3 separate regions of the Homo sapiens genome follow, and all the other regions are linked to region 3. The links are contacts of gene promoters, found by promoter capture Hi-C in blood cells and fetal thymus (Javierre and others, 2016). All regions are on one chromosome and are shown on one strand. The core of a region is centred on a gene start or on the middle of the fragment in contact, and the rest is flanking DNA. Distances in the headings are between cores, read along the strand shown.

Region 1 (3,942 bases), core at 987-3,486, 180 kb before region 3:
CAAGAGAGACACACAAACCTTGTCCTAGCGCAGCTTACAGCCTAGCAAGGCCTGATGTGAAGGAAATAAGGCCTGAGTGTGAAGGCATTCAGGCTGCTGAAGAAACGTATAGTGTGGAGACCTTTTTTCTCAGGAGTTCAGGGAAGGAAGTGGTCTTTTAAGTGGAGACCAGAATTAACTAGGCAGAGAGAACACCATGTGTATAGGCCCTAGGAGAGAGCATGTTATGTTCGAGACATGAATGGTCAGTGTGGCTAGAGTCGGGGGAGGGCTAACGGGGGCAGCAGATCCCCAAGGGCCTTGTGGGCCAGACCTATTCACCCACTCAGCAAATCTTTCTTGATTGTCAAATGTATATCAGGCAGTTTCAGGTGCTGAGATTACTGTAATGAACAAGCAGATAAGGTGTCTTCTACTTGGGGAGATAGATAATAAACAAATACATAAACAAGAAGATGGAGGAGGCCTCTCTAGAGCAGGTGGTTGGGAAAGGCTTCTCTGTGAGAGGACATGTGAGTTGAGGCTTAAAGAATGAAAAAAAAAAATCAGGTATGTGTAGAGTTGGAGGAATAGCCATTCTAGGCAGAGAGAACAGGTGCCAAGACCCCGCAGGTAGGCATGTTTGAGGAACAGAAGAGATCACTTGGTTGGATCGTTGTAAGTGGTTAGGAAGAGCAGGGTGAGAGAAGATAAGAGAAGGAATGCGGGGGCCAAGCCTTGTAGGGCCATGGTAAGACATGGTAAATTTTCAGTACAGAAATAATCAGATTTATTTCTGAGATAATTTTGGCTGCCATGTGAAGAATGGGCTGTAGGGGGCGAGAGTGGAAGCAGGAAGACCAGCTTTAGGAGGTCTTTGCAGAAGTTGAGCAATGATGGTGGCCTGAAATAGGATGGGAGTGGCAGCTGTGGGAGCCACCCTGTGGGAGGGGTCGACAGATTTGAGACAGCTTTAGGAAGTGGAATGGAGAGGTCTAGGTGATTGAACCTCGAGGTGAAAGGGAGAGAGGAGTCAAGGCCAATACTCTGCTTTCTAGGTTGAACGACTAAGTGTTTGGTAATCATTTCGGGTCTTGAGGTATGAGATGTCTGCAAGATATCCCAGGGGATGCAAGGGTGTCTACACAGGTCTGCAGCTTGGAAGAGCAGTCTCTGTCGGCACCACCTTTCGGAATGGTTGCATATGCGTGATAATGGGAGGTTGAAGGGAGAGACATGAACACCTGGGATAAAATGAGGAAGAGCTGACACCAACAGAGTAGACCAAGAAGGCAAAAGACAAGACAAGTGTTCACCAGATGTAATGAACATGTTGGTGACCTTAGCAAGGAACCTCAAAGGATGGTGGTAAGTGGGAGGCCAAGAGGCACAACAAGCTTTTTAGCAGTTTGGCCACTATAGGATAGGGGCAAGGGCTGGGAGAGAGTTCTCCGACAGGACCTGGGTCTGCAGCCCTTTGAGGTTCCAGGAACCCAGCCAAGGCCTGCGCAGGAAAGGGTGTCTTCCCTTAATCTCAGAGAGTGAGTCATCTCAGCCCAGCCCAGCCTGCTTCCCATCAGAGGCCTAGATGGTCCTAGGAAAGTCATCCTTAACCCTTAACCTTTAACCTGGGATGGAGCTGAAGGCTCAAAGTGAGAGCGTGCTCCCTCAACTCCCCACGATAAGCCCTACACTAGGAAGGCTTGCATGCCCAGGGCGAACCCTTGACCCTAGTAGCTCATCACCTCCAATTCCCCAAGACCATGTACTTTGGGTGAAAATGCATTTGTTCTCCAACTTCTCAGAATCTTTAGTGGTCTCACAACCCAAGGTGAACAAATGGAATTGAGAAAAGGGCAAGAACAGTAGCACAGAACAATGTGAAGGTAGGTTGCCTATGGAATCTTTAGGGAAGAGGAAGATAGTTCTAGGAAGAAAAGGCAAATTGGCTTCAAGCATTTTTATAGATCAAACCTGTTGGGTCACCCCTGTGAACCTTCATTGATTCCAGTGACCAGACAGCAGTCAAACCTTTGTTTTTCACTTTATTATACAAAAAAGGGAAAACAAAACTTCCACAGTTGGCTTTAAGCATAGGCAGACACCTCTAAGCCACTCCCTCCCACCTCCCATGATACAAATTCAAGTTGTGGTGGTTGTTGAATCCTACAAAACACTCCTTAAATATTAGAAAAGAAGTTGGGGGTGGGGATGGGGGTCTTCCCACCCCAGCCATCCCATCCCAGTGCCAAAATGCACTCAAGAGTGACCTCTTACAGCACCAACACCCCCACCCTGACAGTCCTGTTTGTACTGTAAGAATTTTTCAATTTTTAAAACAGGAAAGAAAAAGTGCCCCATTCAAAGTTGTTTTTAAATGAAAATACATTCCACTGAAACACAACAGTGTAGGGGCATCCAAATAGGAAACTGGGGTTCTTTGCAGGGCTCTTGGGAAGAAATAGAACCTATAAACCCCTGTACTTAATTCCAGGATTAGGACAAAGGAAGGGGAATGGGAGTGGGGAGTGTCCCCCCCAGGCCTCCCCACCCCCAGCACCAAGGTCCAAGGCAAAGCAGAGACTGTCTGCCTTCCTTTGGGAGAGGGACCCACCAGCCTCTCTGGGACCAGGGCCCTTCACCGTTCTTGCTCCACCTCCGCGGCAGAGTTCCCGCTCTTCCCCCATTCCTTGGCTTTCATTCAGAGGGGGAAGGTGGAAAAGCACCAAGCCCCAATTTAATAGGTCAGTGACATGACCATAAAAAAGAACCCCCCAAATTTAGTCAACAAAAAAATAAGAACTACAGAGATAAGGTGGCTTGGCTTATTAAGAGTCAAGGAATCAAGGTACCAAAAAATACGGGAGATGGCTGGGAAGAGTTAGAGACAGCTGCAGATGCAGCTTTTGCAGACTTCTTGCCCAGCTGTGGGGTTGGGGGAGGAGGGAGCAGACCTGAGAAATTAAAGGAAATAGGGGGTGGTGGGAGGATTCAAGGAAGGCTGGAGGGATGTGTAAGTTAGGAGCTCCCAGCACATTTCTTGAAGCCCAGGTTCTGAGCCTGGGGTGGCCAGGCTTGGCCTCTCAGATGAACAGGGGAGACCTTTTCCATCAAATACAAGCTTTAAGCTTCACACCATCTTGCCTGCCTTTCCGCCTTCCTGCTGGACAATGGAGACCAGCAGCTCGGATGCATGTGACTCTGGCAGAGGGAGCCTGGTCTGGGAAGCATCCGAGAATGGCTTCAGCACACTCCCCCTAATGGAATCAGAGACTGGGCAAAACAGAGGATGTGGAGAACGGGGCAGCCTCAGCCTGCTCCCACCAGGGTCAACATCTCCCGGCCCTCACCGACCCTTTTTCCAGATTCACAACAAACTGATGTGGGCTCTAGGACAGACCCCTTTACACACACACACACACACTCACACTCTTTTGCACACATCCACAGCTGCACCCATGCTATGTACAGGAACACACATACACATACTCTCTTCCACATACATCAAGACCATTTTTAAAAGGTTCCAAATCTACCCCTAAACCCTCCCTCTCCCAGAAATGACAACAGAGACGGCAGCCGAGATCGGTAGGAAACGTCTCGTTGACAGCTCAGAGCTTAAAAAAAAATATATACACATATATAAAAAACACTTCTGCCCCCTCCCCCATGAACGGGTCCAGGCAGCTCCTTCCTGCAGGGGGCAGGGGAGAGGGCCACCAGGGCAGTGCCTGTTTTCTTGAAGGCACCGACCCTCCTCCTCCCCATGTTCCCTGCCTCCAGTTCCAATGCAGGGGTCCAGGTGGCAGGCCCCTCTGGGAAGGAATGGGTCTTCCCCAAGCTTCCACCCCACCTTGGATTGGGCCGCAGGTGTGGAGGGCCTCATCAAACTCTTTGGGACCCCCCACCCCCACTCTCCGGTCCATTGTCCATGCCGGAACCGCAAGTGCAGAAGTGGGTGGG
Region 2 (4,274 bases), core at 697-3,196, 240 kb after region 3:
CTCACTGCAACCTCTGCCCCCCAGGCTCAAGCCATCCTCCCACCTCAGCCTCCTGAGTGAGTAGCTGGGACTGCAGGTGCACACCACCACACCCCGTTAATTTTTGTATTTTTTGTAAAGAAGGGGGCTCGCCATGTTGCCTAGGCTGGTCTCAAACTCCTGAGCTCAAGCAATCTGACCACTTCATCCCCACAAAGTGCTGAATTACAAGCGTGAGCCACCACGCCCTACAAGGGCCAAATGTCCAGTGGCAAGGCCATAAGAGCTGCTAAGTGACATTGCTTCATCATGAACTCATGCCCTCTAATTCCACATCCAGGGCCTCTGTCCTCTGAGAACACACATCCAGGACCATACCATCCCAGAGGTGACCTGTCTTTGCAGCTGTGAAGGGGAGCTAGAGCTGGGTGTGCCCAACTGATTAGGATTTGCTGAAACAATCCAACCCTTCTTCCATACTTAAAATCCCATCTGGTCTTCGTCCCATATATTTTCCTTTCCGTTTTAAAATGTGAGTCTCTTCTGAGGGAAAGCCAATCCATGTGTTTCTGATTCATTTAAACTTAATTTCTCCAAATAGCACTCTCTAACATCCCTGAATTTCATACATTTTTAGAAGACAGGAAATAGGAAGAGGCCAAGTATGGGCAGATTGGGAAGAGATGGAGCTCCCAGGCACTCACTGGGATTCTCTTCCTTAGGAAAATAATGTCTCCCATCCTTACAGTGGAGGCTGAGCCTGGATTCAATTCCATATTCTTGCTCCAGCTCTAGCTAAGGTGACAGTTATAACACGTGGGCCAGACAGTATGGGACTCCATCCGGCACACTTTTTTTTTTTTTTTTTTTTTTTTTTGGTGACGGGGTCTCCTCTGTTGCCTAGGCCAGACTGCAGTGGGGCAATCCCAGCTCACTGCAGCCTCGACTTCCCTGGCTCAAGTAACTGGGCTTAAGTGATCCTCCCACCTCAGCCTCTCGAGTAGCTAGGACCACAGATGCATGCCTAACGCCCAGCTAATTTTTTGTTATTTTTTGTAGAGACAGGGTCTCCCTATGTTGCCCAAGCTGGTCTTGAACTCCTGGACTCAAGGGATGCTCCCTACGTGGCCTCTCAAAGTGCTGGGATTACAGGCATGAGCCACCGTGCCAGCCCAACGTGGTTTACTATCTAGAACATAGTAAAGCGAGGAATTAACTTGATCCTTGATAGCTTGGCCAGGGCAGGAAGTAAGGTCACCTGTGAGAGAAGCAATGATTCTGTGGTGCTTCTTGAGTATCTCCATCATATACCTCAGCAGGAGGGCTTGGATGCTCCCTCTAGGCAAACATGACTATGACAATGAAGTAAAAACAAACCTGGATAACATGATGGGTGGGCTTTGATGGAGAAAGTATATGGAGGCAATATAGCATGTTAGAAAGTGCTGTGTAGTCAGACAAAACTGGGTTCAAAGCTTGGCTCTGACAATTAAGCCCAGGGACTTTAGGCAAGTCACTTAACCTCTGTGAATATCATCAGTAAGCTTCCGCTGCATGAGATTGTTATAAGAATTAAATAAAACCATTTGTAGGGTATGACAATTAATAGGCACTTAAATAAATGGCAACCAGTAGTGTCATATTATCTGAAAGTAAGATACAGTGTGTTGAAATTTCTTAATTCAACTCCCACTTAAATCATGCCCCAGACAGTCTCCTGACACGCTGATGAGGGTCTAATATGGAAATTTTGAAAGAAATCAATCAACAATAATTTGATGGGCATGTGATGGTACAAAGCCAGTGCCAGATGCTATGGATGGGTGGGCAGGGGAAAAGAAAAAAAAGTAGAGGGTTTGCAAGATTGTTCAAGGCTAGACACAGTGTCTCACACCTGTAATCCCAGCACTTTGGGAGGCTGAGGCAGAAGGATTGCTTGAGTCCAGGAGTTTGAGACCAGCCTGGGCAACATAGTGAGACCTCATCTCTACTAAAAATAAAAATAAAAAATTAGCTAGGCATGGTGGCATGCACCTGTAGTCCCAGCTGCTTGGGAGGTTAAGGCAGGAGGATTGATTGAGCCCGGGAGGTGGAGGCTGCAGTGAGCCTCGATTGCACCATTGCACTCCAGCCTGGGTGACAGAGAGATACCCTGTCTCAAAAACAAACAAAAAACATTAACAACAACAAAAACAAGGTTGTTCAAGAGACAACAGAAGTCATAGACACTTGAGAAGAATCACAAAGCAATTTAGCAGCAAATTTTCAGAATCCAAATTGAGTCTTGGGCTACTGGGGATGTAGAATCATGCTTGGAGGATGCAGACACCCTGCCGGAGGACGATCTAAATCTGGAAAACCTGTATGATTCTGAACTGGGACTTGATTTTTAAGCTTCCTTAATACCTGGTAAACCTGAAGCTTGGGATTTTATAACAAGTTTATTTTTTATGTGTTAAAAATGTGTGGAGAGGGTGAAATGGGAAAAACTGCCTAATGAATATAGAGTTTTGTTTTGGGGCGATGAAATGTTTTGGAACTAGATGGAGGTGATGGTTACATGACATTGTGAATGTGCTAAATATCACTGAATTGTTCACTTTAAAATGGTTAACTTTATGCTACAATTTCACCTCAATTTAAAAATTCATAGAAATTTAGAAATAGGCCAGGTGTGGTGGCTCACACCTGTAATCCCATCACTTTGGGAGGCTGAGGTGGGCGGATCACATGAGGCCAAGAATTTGAGACCAGCCTGGCCAACATGGCGAAACCCTGTCTCTACTAAAAATATAGAAATTAGTTGGGTGTGGTGGCGCATGCCTGTAGTCCCAGCTACTTTGAAGGCTGAGACAGGAGAATAGCTTGAACCCAGGAGGCACAGGTTGCAGTGAGCTGAGATGGCGCCACTACACTCCTGCCTAGGCGACAGAAAGAGACTTGGTCTCAAAAAAAAAGAAGTAAAAATAAAATTTTAAAAAAGCTATTTGGCTTGGCACAGTGGCTTACGCCTGTAATCCCAGCCCTTTGGGAGGCCAAAGTGGGCAGATCACTTGAGGTCAGGAGTTCGAGACCAGCCTGGCCAACATGGCGAAACACTGTCTCTACCAAAAAATAGAAAAGTTAGCTGGGCGTGGTGACGTGCGTCTGTAATCCCCGTTACTCGGGAGGCTGAGGCAGAAGAATCGCTTGAACCTGGGAGATGGAGGTTGCGGTGAGCCGAAATCACGCCACTGCACTCCAGCTTGGGTGACAGAGTGAGAGCCTGTCTCAAACAAACAAACAATTTTTAAAGGAGTACCCCTACCAGATATTAGAAATTTTTTTAACCTATGCAAATTAAAGCAATATGAGATTGGTACAGAAATAGGAAAGGAAAGAATGGAGTCCAGAGGCAGATTTAAATATATATGGGGATTTTTTTGTTTGTTTCTTTTTATTTTTTTTTTATATGGGGATTTAGTATATGCTAACGAAGACCGTTAAAATCAGCAGGGAGGCCAGGCATGGTAATCCCTGCACTTTGGGAGGCTCGGTCGATTGGATTGCTTGAGCCCAGGAGTTTGAGACAAGCCTGGGCAACGTGGTGAGACCCTGTCTCTACAAAAAAATACAAAAACTAGCCAGGTGTGGTAGCATGTGCTTGTGCTCCTAGCTACTCAGGAGGTTGAAGTGGGAGGATGGCTTGAGTCTGGGAGGTGGAGGCTGCAGTGAGCTGAGATCGCGCCATTGCCACTGTACTCCAGCCTGGGCGACAGAGGAAGACTGTCTCAAAAAAGAAAAAAAGCAAAAAGAAAGAAAATGAAAAGAAAATAAGAATGGATAATTTAGAAAGGAATTCTGAGTGGTCAATAGACATATGAAAATATGTTTAACCTCATTAGTAATCCAGAAAAACGATACAAATAAAACTAACAATGATATTGTTTCTATTGCTTTTTTTTTGAGGCAGAGTCTCACTCCATCACCCAGTCGGAGTGCAATGGCGCCATCTCAGCTCACTGCAGCCTCTGCCTCCTGGGTTCAAACAATTCTCCTGCCTCAGCCTCCTGAGTAGCTGGAATTACAGGCATATGCCACCACACCCAGCTAATTTCTGTATTTTTAGTAAAGCAGGGTTTCGCCACATTGGCCAGGCTGGTCTTGAACTCCTGACTCCAGATGATCTGCCTGCCTCAGCCTCCCAAAGTGCTGGGATCACAGGAGTCAGCCACCACACCTGGCCTATGTTTCTATTGCTTAACAGATTGATAAAGAAACAACCCTCTCTGACCTTCTAGTGAAGGTATAAAATT
Region 3 (4,197 bases), core at 1,385-3,884:
CTTTGGGAGGCCAAGGGATTACAGGCGTGAGCCTCTGTGTCTGGCCCATAATATTTTTTTAGCCTGCAGGATGTTTAAGTAGTGCCAATGGGATCACTACTTATAGGAGGGGAAATCAGCAGGAGTGGGCACAGGAAGGAGTTGAGCTGATTCAGGCCCAATGACAGCATTCGCCAACACCCCACGAGCTTTGGAACTAGAATGACCCTTCAAAATTGTCAGAGTTGGCCGGGTGTGGTGGCTCACGCCTGTAATCCCAGTACTTTGGGAGGCCGAGGCAGGCTGATCACCTGAGGTCAGGAGTTTGAGACCAGCCTGGCCAACATAGTGAAACCCTGTCTCTACTAAAAATACAAAAATTAGCCGGGCATGGTGGCATGCACCTGTAATCCCAGCTACTCGGGAGGCTGAGACAGGAGAATCGTTTGAACCCAGGAGGCAGAGGTTGCAGTGAGCCGAGATCACCCCATTGCACTCCAGCCTGGGCAACGAGAGCGAAACTCCATCTCAAAAAAAAAGAAGAAAAAAAGTCTGGGCATGGTGGCTGAAGCCTGTAATCCCAGCACTTTGGGAGGCCAAGGCGGGTGGATCACCTGAAGTTGGGAGTTCGAGACCACCCTGACCAACATGGAGAAACCTCGTCTCTACTAAAAATACAAAATTAGCCGGGTGTGGTGGCACATGCCTGTAATCCCAGCTACGCGGGAGGCTGTGGCAGGAGAATCGCTTGAACCCGGGAGGCAGAAGTTGCGGTGAGCCAGTGATTGTGCCATTGCACTCCAGCCTGGGCAACAAGAGCGAAACCCCATCTCAAAAAAAAAAAAAAAAAAAAAAAAAAAAGAAGAAGAAGAAAAAAAGAATTGTCAGAGTTGATGAAAGAGGGCTGGACCCTTATCAAATGCCTCCCCCACACCTGCCTCCACTCTCCCCACTCACCCACTTCTCATTGATCAGACACTGGATGTGGGCCATCTTGGGAGGGGACTTGGAGTGAACTGGCTCTCTTCAGCAGAGGAAATCCCCTAAGTGGCTGACACTTGAAGGCTATCTGCCATTGCCACCCATTGCCACTCCCTGAAGCTGGTGGGCACAGTGTCTCTCACAATAGTAGCTCAGGGTACACGCTATGAAGAGGAGGAGCCAAGACTCTAATCTTGGCACTCTTGATTCTGAAGCCTGATCAATACTAATCATTAATGACCTATTGCTTCTTTTCAAATATTTATAATGTTGATGGAGATGAGGGAAATGGAACAGAAATGCAAGGTGCGGGAGGGTAGACAACTTTAGTTCTGCAAATCAATTTAGGACATGTGCTCCTCTCCACATTTCCTTTCTTTTTTTTTTTTTTTTTTTTTTGAGACAGAGTTTCGCTCTCGTTGCCCAGGCTGGAGTGCAATGGCATGATCTCGGCTCACCACAACCTCTGCCTCTCAGGTTCAAACGATTCTCCTGCCTCAGCCTCCCGAGTAGCTGGGATTACAAGCATGCGGCACCACGCCCGGCTAATTTTTTTTTTTTTGAGACGGAGTGTCACTCTGTCACCCAGGCTGGAGTGCAGTGGCATGATCTCAGCTCACTGCAACCTCCACCTCCCGGGTTCAAGTGATTCTCCTACCTCAGCCTCCCGAGTAGCTGGGACTACAGGAGTGTGCCACCACGCTCAGCTAATTTTTGTATTTTTAATAGAGACAGGGTTTCACCATATTGGCCAGGCTGGTCTTGAACTCCTGACCTCATGATCTGCCCACCTCTGCCTCCCAAAGTGCTGGGATTGCAGGTGTGAGCCACTGTGCCTGGTCTCTTTTTTTTTTTTTTTTTTGTATTTTTAGTAGAGACGGGGTTTCTCCATGTTGGTCAGGCTGGTCTCGAATTCTCGACCTCAGGTGATCTGCCCGCCTCGGCCTCCCAAAGTGCTGGGATTACAGGCATGAGCCACCGCGCCCGGCCTCCTCTCTGCATTTCAAGGTGTTGAGGGTGGAGTGGTTCATACAACTGACCCTTGGGGAAAAAATAAAGCATCAACTCTTGTCTTCCCTTTGTTCTTGCTGTAGTTTTCAGTGCCCATCAGCCCACATGTGCCCTGCCCTTATACCTTCACCTGAGCCAGTCCCCTGGACCCCAACATTCTTGACAAGAAATCAACCTGAATAGGCCCCACAAGTCACCTTGCTCAACTGCTATCGCAAATGGGAAACTCGAAGCCCCCAGAAGCAGTGATGGGGAGGGGTCCTGCTCTCTCCCAATACCCCAACTTCCCTTACGGCTCACCTCCCATGGCTGTCCTTGTGGAAGTCCAGTGAAAATCCAAACTGGCTGCCATTGGGGCCTGCATAGAAGGTGAGCTGCACTGGGTCCAGGTTCAAGGCCCAGGCTGGAGGGGCAGCACAAGGTCCCAAGAGCAGCAGCACCCACTCCAGAAGCCAGAGGGCTTGCAGTGGACACAAAGCTCTGGCCATCTTCCTTCTTCCACAACCTCCCAGGCAGGAATGGGCCAGCTCCTCCTCCTTCCCTTCAGATTCCTCCACAGGAAGTCTTTTCTTATCAAACTGGAACCCCAAGTAACTTGCTGAGCAACGGGCAGAGCAAAGGGCTATAGCCCCTGGACTCATGGTGGCTAGAATTGCCAGGAAGTGGGTGAGGCCACCCAGAGGGTGGATGCTCATGGCTGAAAGCCATGACTCCTCCCCTTTCCTGAGAATAGTTTATTACCATGTCCTATTGGTTCTGCCTATCAATGATGTCTCTTGAATCTTTACCCCATCTCTACTACCACCGTGCTAGTCCAAGCCACCATCACTTTCTGCTTGGGATAGCGTGATTGTGAACTGGTCCATACTTGTCTACTCTAGCCTACAGTTCTAATCTCCTCCCTTCCCCCATCTGGCTGTACAGCTGTGGTGCTTTGTGACTTGGCCACAGGTCGGGGAAGGAGAAGGAAGCTGCTGCCCCCGATAAAACCTGAGGCTTCTGTATCTTTTTGGATATGGCATTTACCCACTTCCTCCTTCTAGGACCTTGGGCGGCCTCAACCAGCCATATTGGTGCAGCAGCTTCCTCACTCCTCCTCCGTCTTGAGCCAAGCTTTAGTGTGGCCACAGCAGTGCAGTCAGTGCTGGGGACAGGGTGGTGAATGGACCTTGGTCTAGGTGGCAAGGAGATTGGGGATAAAGTGGAGTTATTCCAGGGAATTTTGACTCACAGTTTCTGAGATTATGCATTAGCTGTTCAGTTGAAGGTAGGCCCTCAATCCTTTTTGGGTGATGGAGCTCTTTAACCATTAAGACTTGATTCTGGTTGGGGGCTTTGCCTAGGGGAGCCTTCCCTGACTCCTCAGGCTGGCCGCGTGGGCTAACACACGTAGGCACAGCATTGAGCACACTGTTTACTCTTGGTCCGTTCACAGGATTGTGTAAATGAGTCCCTTGGGAGCAAGGCTCCTTGCTACAGCCCTAGAGACTACCCAAGAGTCCAATGTGTAGTACGTGTATTGCTGAAAGACTGGATGGAAACACACACTAAGGATGGAAGATGCAAACATAGGGTGACAAAGTGAAGGGATGAGTTTTGAGCAGAAAGGCAAAGTCATTTTCTCTCGGTAAGCGGAAGAGGAGGAGTGCCAAGTCTTACTGGCACTCATGCCTTCCCAAAAAAGCAGGTTCTCAGGAAGATTTAAGAGGTCCGCTAGGGGTAACCATAGCCACATTTTCCTTTTGATTTCTATTTTCTGATCAAACTTAACCATTGCCGTATCCTGCTCAACCACCCTGTACCATTTTGAAGTCCCCTCGTAATTTACTACCTCAGCCTAGAGTTAAGAATCTTATCCTTTATAGGACAGGAAGCTAAAAGCCTGAACTTTGGTCTGGGCCTTCTTCATTGCTGAGTTCCCAGTGTCAAGTACATGGGAGGCGTGTAATTAATGTATTTGCTTGAACGAATACTTAACCCAGTCCTCTACTTACCTTCTATCCTCCCACTGTCCTCAGGTGAGTGATTGCTGTATTACTGGTGTATTCTGTGAGGCCAAATATGAACTTACATTTCACTCAAGTTTTCAATAAGTATTTACTCTGTTCAAGGCACTGTGTTGATAAAGGATACAAAGATAACCATTAGGCCAGGTATAGTGGCTCATGCCTGTAATCCCAGCACTTTGGGAGGCTGAGGCAGGAGGATGGCTTGAGCTCAGGCATT

What was found. Contacts are between HindIII fragments. The CHiCAGO score rates a contact against its expected background, and 5 or more counts as called.
Region 1: a fragment that was not itself captured here is called in contact with the fragment with the promoter of ITGA2B in region 3 in 3 of 17 cell types (megakaryocytes, erythroblasts and M1 macrophages); the score reaches 7.0 in megakaryocytes.
Region 2: a fragment that was not itself captured here is called in contact with the fragment with the promoter of ITGA2B in region 3 in 3 of 17 cell types (endothelial precursors, M2 macrophages and M1 macrophages); the score reaches 6.9 in endothelial precursors.

The regions. Positions count from the first base shown.
Region 1 is chr17:44,203,029-44,206,970 of GRCh38, forward strand. UBTF (upstream binding transcription factor) reads right to left here. Exons shown (of 21, transcript NM_014233.4): 21 at 2,012-3,942. All of the region lies in intron 1 of ATXN7L3-AS1 (ATXN7L3 antisense RNA 1), which reads left to right. Among named protein-coding and RNA genes, the nearest start is that of MIR6782, 2.8 kb to the right of the region's middle. RefSeq lists an enhancer at 3,935-3,942. The HindIII fragment of the contact is 1,724 bases long and covers 1,375-3,098 here.
Region 2 is chr17:44,630,625-44,634,898 of GRCh38, forward strand. No RefSeq gene overlaps it. Among named protein-coding and RNA genes, the nearest start is that of LINC01180, 18 kb to the right of the region's middle. The HindIII fragment of the contact is 850 bases long and covers 1,522-2,371 here.
Region 3 is chr17:44,387,015-44,391,211 of GRCh38, forward strand. It overlaps ITGA2B (integrin subunit alpha 2b), which reads right to left and starts at 2,635. Exons shown (of 30, transcript NM_000419.5): 1 at 2,272-2,635. The coding sequence starts at 2,459. RefSeq lists an enhancer at 2,792-2,851. The HindIII fragment of the contact is 14,706 bases long and covers 1-3,082 here.